2 separate regions of the Homo sapiens genome follow, and region 2 is linked to region 1. The links are contacts of gene promoters, found by promoter capture Hi-C in blood cells and fetal thymus (Javierre and others, 2016). All regions are on one chromosome and are shown on one strand. Each heading gives the region's core, a stretch centred on a gene start or on the middle of the fragment in contact. The rest is flanking DNA. Distances are from core to core; before and after follow the strand shown. Region 1 holds the start of KCTD17 (potassium channel tetramerization domain containing 17). Region 2 holds the start of SSTR3 (somatostatin receptor 3).

The links. The method cuts DNA at HindIII sites, captures the fragments that hold promoters and counts their contacts. A CHiCAGO score of 5 or more calls a contact.
Region 2: a contact is called between the fragment with the promoter of SSTR3 here and the fragment with the promoter of KCTD17 in region 1, in 2 of 17 cell types (total CD8 T cells and activated CD4 T cells). The highest score is 6.1, in total CD8 T cells.

Annotation. Positions count from the first base shown.
Region 1 is chr22:37,050,077-37,053,383 of GRCh38, forward strand. It overlaps KCTD17 (potassium channel tetramerization domain containing 17), which reads left to right and starts at 1,666. Exons shown (of 9, transcript NM_001282684.2): 1 at 1,666-1,873; 2 at 3,024-3,132. The coding sequence starts at 1,685. RefSeq lists silencers at 1,458-1,767, 1,778-1,897 and enhancers at 1,834-2,551, 2,552-3,268. The HindIII fragment of the contact is 2,809 bases long and covers 518-3,307 here.
Region 2 is chr22:37,211,068-37,214,374 of GRCh38, forward strand. It overlaps SSTR3 (somatostatin receptor 3), which reads right to left and starts at 1,410. Exons shown (of 2, transcript NM_001051.5): 1 at 758-1,410. RefSeq lists an enhancer at 249-1,228. The HindIII fragment of the contact is 10,151 bases long and covers 1,052-3,307 here.

The DNA.
Region 1 (3,307 bases), core at 416-2,915:
TATCTCTACTAAAAATACAAAAATTAGCCAGGCGTGGTGGTGCATGCCTGTCATCCCAGCTACTCAGGAGGCTGAGGCATGAGAATTGCTTGAACCCAGAAGGCAGAGGTTGCAGTGAGCTGAGATGGTGCCACTGCACTCCAGTCTGGGTGAGAGAGTGAGACTGTATCTCAAAAAAGAAAAAGAGAGAGAGAGAGAGAGAGAGAGAGAGAGAGAGAGAGATAGGGGTCTCACTATGCTGTCCAGGCTGGTCTTGAACTTCTATGCTCAAGCGAGCCTTGGCCTCCCAAAGTGCTGGGATTACAGGTGTGAGCCACCGCACCCAGCCTACGCTAGATGTTTATAGACATTTCATAACTTAATCTTCACAGCAATGCTCTGGGGTCACAACTGTTGTAAATCCCATTTGGCAAGAGAGAAAGCCAATCTCAGAGAGGAAGTTGCTCAGGACACACCTAGTGAATTTTAAGTAGCAGGATTCCAGTACACCTTTGATCCACTCCCTGCCAAGGAGAAAAGCTTTATGCAGAAAGCAGGGCATTGGGTGGTAACAGGGAAACTTCTCCCAGCACAGGGCCAGGCTGCCCAGTGTTCGGGCCAGCTGCGTGTGACATTGGATCAGTGAGAGGAGCCCCAGACCTCTCCCCCATAGGCCAGGACCAGGACTGAAACCAGTAAGGAGAGGAAGCTAAGGAGACAGCTTCCTCGTCAGCCCTTGTCCCTCCCTGGTCCCGGACCACATGAGGAACTGCTCCCTTCCCCCATCCTGAGGTCCACAGAATGACGGTTCCCCTCCGAGTTAACTGGGGAATAACTCAGAAAGCCACCCGCAGAACCAATCCCTCCTCCTTCTTAGGGAGGACGTGGAAAAACTGAGAAAGGCCAAAAGCCAGAATGGAAACTCAGTTCTCCTGACTCGGATCCAGGGCGTGCTCTACTCTTCCTCCTTAGAAGTCTTTCCCAAGGATCCCTGACATTCCATGGTCAGGGAGCAGGAAAGAGACCTTGGTGGGTACTCACTCACCAGCAATGTGAGTAGGGCGGTCACTTCGCTTCTGTGGCTTCATCTGTAAAATGGGTATAGCCCAAAATACCAGACTCACAGGGCTGCTGAGAGCTTAAATTCATAACACATATACACAAAGTGTCTGGCATACAGGTGCTCAGCCAACCTCAAGTCCAGCTATGTCGTTCTCCAAGAACTCAGGTGAGGGAAAGAACCCACTCCCACCCACCCCGCCCCCACCCCTATACACACAAAGGGCAAATGAAAAAATATGACGAAACACATGCGGGTCAATGCTATGGGGATTCCTGGAGGGGAAAGTTTCTTCCCTTATCAGCTGTTGGACGACGGAGACGGCACAAAGGAAAAACAAGAATGCTCGGACCCATGGGATGACTGCAGATTTGGGGAAGCCCTCATTCTTTTCCCAGAGGCCGGGAGTTCGACCTTCCCCATACACAGTGATTTGGCCAGAGGGCATCTTCACCACCCCAGACTGCGGGCCTGCGGGGAAGGGCGAAGCGGGGCGGGACCGGGGGCGGGAGCAGCGCGGGGCGGGACCCTACCCGCGGCCCACGCGGAGCCAGGAGGCGCGGACTACAGCTCCCGGCCTGCCCCGCGTGCGGTCCCCGCCCGCCCCCAGCGCCCGGGAGGAGGATGCAGACGCCGCGGCCGGCGATGAGGATGGAGGCCGGGGAGGCAGCGCCGCCGGCGGGGGCGGGCGGCCGCGCCGCAGGCGGCTGGGGCAAGTGGGTGCGGCTCAACGTGGGGGGCACGGTGTTCCTGACCACCCGGCAGACGCTGTGCCGCGAGCAGAAGTCCTTCCTCAGCCGCCTGTGCCAGGGGGAAGAGCTGCAGTCGGACCGGGTGAGGCCCCCGGGGTGGGCGGCGAGCGGGCGGTGGGTCCTCCGCTCGCCCGACGCGGGGCTGTCGGGCCTGGCTCGCCCGCCAGGCTGGGGACCCGGCCGGGTTCATTTCCGAGGAACTGGAGGCGGGAAGAAGCGGCAGGAGGAGGGGAGGGGGAGGTGGGTCTGGTAGTGAGGGATGTACCCATTGCCGTGGCAACGGGACGACGCAGGCCGCGGCCATTAGAAGCTCTCCAGCCGCCCCGGATCGGGGCCTCTCCTTCTCCTTTGGGGCTGTGGACAGGGAGAGACCTGGGACCTTTCCTCCCTCCCAAAGGGGACTCCTGCTCTGGGGAAGGAGTCGACGAGGCTACTTCTCCCGCTCTTTGGGATGTGGGTGGCGGAGGGGTGCAGGGAGCTAGCTGGATGGAGGAGCCCTGGGGCGCCTTCTGAGCGGGCTGAATCTAGAAGGAGCGTTGGCCCAGCGGGCACTATTTCTGAGCACCCACCCTGACTCTGCTGCACACTGCCTGCCGCGACCTTGAGTCGGACCCTTCCCTGCACTGCGCTCAGCCTCCTTCCTCATCTGTAACACGAAGGGCTGGTCTGAAGATGACCTCTAAGGTCTCCTGTCCCCCATCCGTGACCCTCCGATGCTGTGGCCTTTGGCAAGTCGCCTCACCTCTCAATGTCTCCGATCTCTCTGTAGAGTCGCATGGAAGCCCACCCTGCCTCCCTGCCCGCCCGAGTGTCCAGTGAGATAGTGACTCCTTTGGAAACTTGTAAACATCCCCTGAAAGCCTAGGGACCTGGGGGCGACAGTGGGGCTGGCTTCAGGGGACAGCCTCTCAGAGGGACATTCTTCGAGCCCTGTGCTGGGCCAGTTGCCACTCAGACATCCTCTCACCGGATGCTCACAGCAAACCCTGATTAGGGGGAGAGGAGTGAGTTTCAAAGAGGCCAAATCATTAGCCTAAGGTCACACATTCAGGAAGAGTCAGAAGCAGGGCTTGAACTCAGGTCCATCTGACCCCAGTGCCTTTTTGCTACTTTGTGCCTGCTCCATCCAGGGAAGAGCTCTCCCTCCACTCTCCTTCCCTCCCTGTGCGTGTGCGGGGTTGGCTGGGGAGAAGCCTCACTCTTCTCTCACCGAGCATCCCTCACCTCCATAGGATGAGACCGGGGCCTACCTCATTGACCGTGACCCCACCTACTTCGGGCCCATCCTGAACTTCCTCCGGCATGGCAAGCTGGTGCTGGACAAGGACATGGCTGAGGAGGGTGAGTTGGTCCAGGGGGCTGGCCTGGACCTTATGCAGCCTGCCAGGGCCCTCTGTGGAGGCCCCAAGCCATTTGGACAACCAGGACGGCCATCTGCCTGCTTGGTTGTTTCCTGCCTCTTCCCAGTCGGACGGGGCTGATTCCCAAGCATCTGCCTGTGCCGAGCCTGGGGCTC
Region 2 (3,307 bases), core at 160-2,659, 160 kb after region 1:
AGTGGGAAGCCAGAATTCGAACCCAGTTCTATCTACTTCTAAACCATCAGTACCTCCTGGCCACACTGGCTCCTCTGAAGGCCTCAGGCTGAGAAGGATCAAAGGCCATGACAGTCCTGAATAGTGCAGGGCGATGGCCCCTGGCTCTCTGCTTGTCCTCTACATGCTTCGGCCTTCCCCCCAAAGACACCTGGCTTATGCTTGCCAGTGCCGACTGACTCACTGGCACCCCAGGCCTGGGGCCTGATCCCAGGAGCACACCCTACAGGCCCAGCGCTGGGGGCTTGGGCTCTGCTGCACAGCGATGATGCCAAATTGCTGTGTGACCTCGGGCAAGTCACTTCTCCCCGCTGCACCTCAGTTTCGTCATATGGAAGACAAGCGGACCCACCTCCCAGGGTTGTTTGCAGAGATTAAACGGAGGCGTGCCAAGCACAGTGCCGGGTATGGAGGGGGAGCTCAGGAGAGCTGCCACGTGAGCTGGGGAAGCCAACGACATGATACATCTGGCTCCCTCCAGCCCTGACAGCCTGCGATTCTGTGATTCCGAGATCCTAGAATCATGGCACGAGATTCTGAGACTAACGCCCCTGCCCCTGCAGCCGACCGGGAGGTCACAGGAAGGCCTCCCTCCTGCCTCCCTGGGAGTCCCCACCCTCTGCCTCCCCAGCCCCAGCCTCCCAAGTTCATCCTGGGCAGAGGATGGGCTTCCAGGACCCCACCCTTCGGGACATCATCCGGGCCCCAGCCTCCTTACCTGCCCATGGGGTGAGGGCTTCCCTCCTTGCCGCCAGGCTGGTTATCATTCTGCTGTCCCCTCTCCCTGCCCAGTCCCCAGGTGCCCCCAGGGCACTCCTAACTAGGGTCCCCACAAGGCACCCACTTCTAGACCGCTTGCGGGCTCAGGTTCCCTCCCAGGCCCTCGGCCACGGCTGTCCACAGAGCCTCTCCCATCTGGTCTCCGGCCCTGACTTCCCAACCAGAGCCTGGTACGTCACCCCCCATCTCCAGGACACATCCTGGGGGGGCAGGGGCAAGGATAGGGGGGAGAAGCTTCCCAGGGTGAGGAAGAGAAGAGGGGAGCAAGGGACACAGAAGCCAATAGAAATAGAGGGGAAAGGGGGTCGGGAGGAGGTGGAGAAAGAGAGAGAGAGAGAAAGAGGGAGGGGGAGAGAGAGAGAGGGAGAGGGAGAGGAGACCGTGAGTAGGAGGAAAGGCAGAATGAGGGGGAGTGATGAGAGATGCGTGACAGGGAGAAGACGAGAAGGAAAGAGAGGAGAGGAGACACGGGTGAGAGGGAGAGATGCAGAGAGAGGCAGGAGGGAGGAAGGAGAATGAGGGGGTGGCAGGGAGAGTGACAGAGAGGGACTGTGCCACAGATGGTGACATGGAGCCCGTGAAGGAGGGAGTAAGCAGGGAGGGGCTGAGGGCCGGAGAGCAGGTGTGGGGGGTGGGGGCGGGGTGCAGGTTAAGGGAGGAGGCCCGGAGAGGGAGCAGGAGGGGCGCAGACCCTGTTACCGGGGAGATTTCAGCCACCCACGCCCGCTGGCCTTGGCTCCTGCAGGGAGTTGGAGAGAAGAATGTGCTCAGTGCTCAGGGGAGCCGAGGCTGCCAGCCAGTAGCCAGAGCAGCTCGTGAGGCCACTGCGGCACAGGTCCCCCGGGGCAGCAGCTGTGTCCCAAGGCAAGGCTGGGTGTGGGGCTGGCCAGCCCGGGAGTCCACAGTCCAGCCCTGCAGTCGGGCACACCGGCCGCAGCACGGACCACTGGGGAGGCCGGGTGGGGGTCATTAGTCCTGGGATTGGTTACATCTGGAGAGCCCCAGGCAGGGTGAGGAGTGGAAGGACAGAACAGAGAACCAATATTTTAGGCTTTGAGGGCAAAATCATTGTGCAGTGAGAAAACAGATTTTTACTATTTTGTAACTGACAAAACTCAAAATAGAATAATAATAATTGAGGCCAGTATTTTGTAATGTAGGTCCACTCATGAGAAGAATAGAGTTCTTTTTACAGACATCACCTTTTGCTTAATTGGAGTTTAGAGTTAGTGTTTCATCAAACCGATTGCAAATGTTCATCCGTAAAAACCATTCTCAGCTCCTAGGCTGTACAAAAACAGGCAGTGGGTGGGATTTGCCCCGTGGGCCATATTTACTGATCTTTGGTCTAAGAGACTCTGCCGTACAGTCCTGAGCACAGGCCCAGATGTCTTGGGATGCCGTGCCCCTGCCTGTGCTGATTCCTGCCTCAGCACAGGAGTGATAAGGAAAGGAACAGTCAGAGACGGAAGGGAAAAGGACACACGTCTTGGCTGAGCACCTACTATGTGCCAGGCTGTACCTAGGCTGCTTTCCAAACTGGGCCATTCCCTGGGACCAGGGCTGGACCTCCTTTGTCACTAGGTACCTGGCACTGCAGAGAACTGGAAGTTGAATGCATCCAGAGGTGCCACCATGCATGCGGCAGCACACAGTAGGACACACCCACTTCCAGCCGGAGCCGGCCTGGTCTCTTAACGCTGCCCGTCCCTTTGCCTTGTGCCCGGGACAAGGCCCTTGCTCCAGGTCTCAGCCTCCCATTGTCCTTGTCCGTACAAGTTCATGAGGTGTGGGTGGGCTCCTGGGAGCGTGTCCTCAGGGTCAAGGGTGGGTTTTCCATGGCACTGACCACCCACCCCTACCCACGGCTTCTCACTGCCCTCAGAATAAAGCTCTCTCGCCGCAGCCCACCTGGCACTGCATCCTTGATTCCTGCCGCCTGCGCGGGCCTCCTCCTCTGCTGATTTCACTCGCTCCTCTGTGCCCCAGGCGTACCCAGCCTCATGTATTCATTCACTTATTCCTGCAGGTTGGGGTATAGGGGCTGAAGACTGGACAGGGGAGTTTGAGCCCCAGCTCTACCCCTGCCGTGCACTGAACTTAAACTTCGGTTTTCTCCTTCAGTAGATTGTACACACCTGACTGCCTGGCCTGGGGGTTCTTGCGAAGGTTAAAGGAGTGAATGCTCATCAGTGTGCCCCCTGCCACACACCTCCCCAGCACCGAGCCTTACTGCTCCAGCCTGGAACCCGTCCACTGCTCTCCATCCACAGGCTCCCGTCTGAGCCAGGCCACTGAAGGGGTTCAGGACACGCCACCCCAGAATACACCACTCTGGCATATTGATTTCTCTGCACTAAAGGCACTTCAGAAACAGCAGGTGCAGAAAGGGGGCTCTGACCTCCCCTTTTCTTCCTGAAAGCAGGAGCTAAAACGCCTTGTGAAAGACGCCCTCCCTATGCCAGGAGGAGGAAAGACATTACCAGAT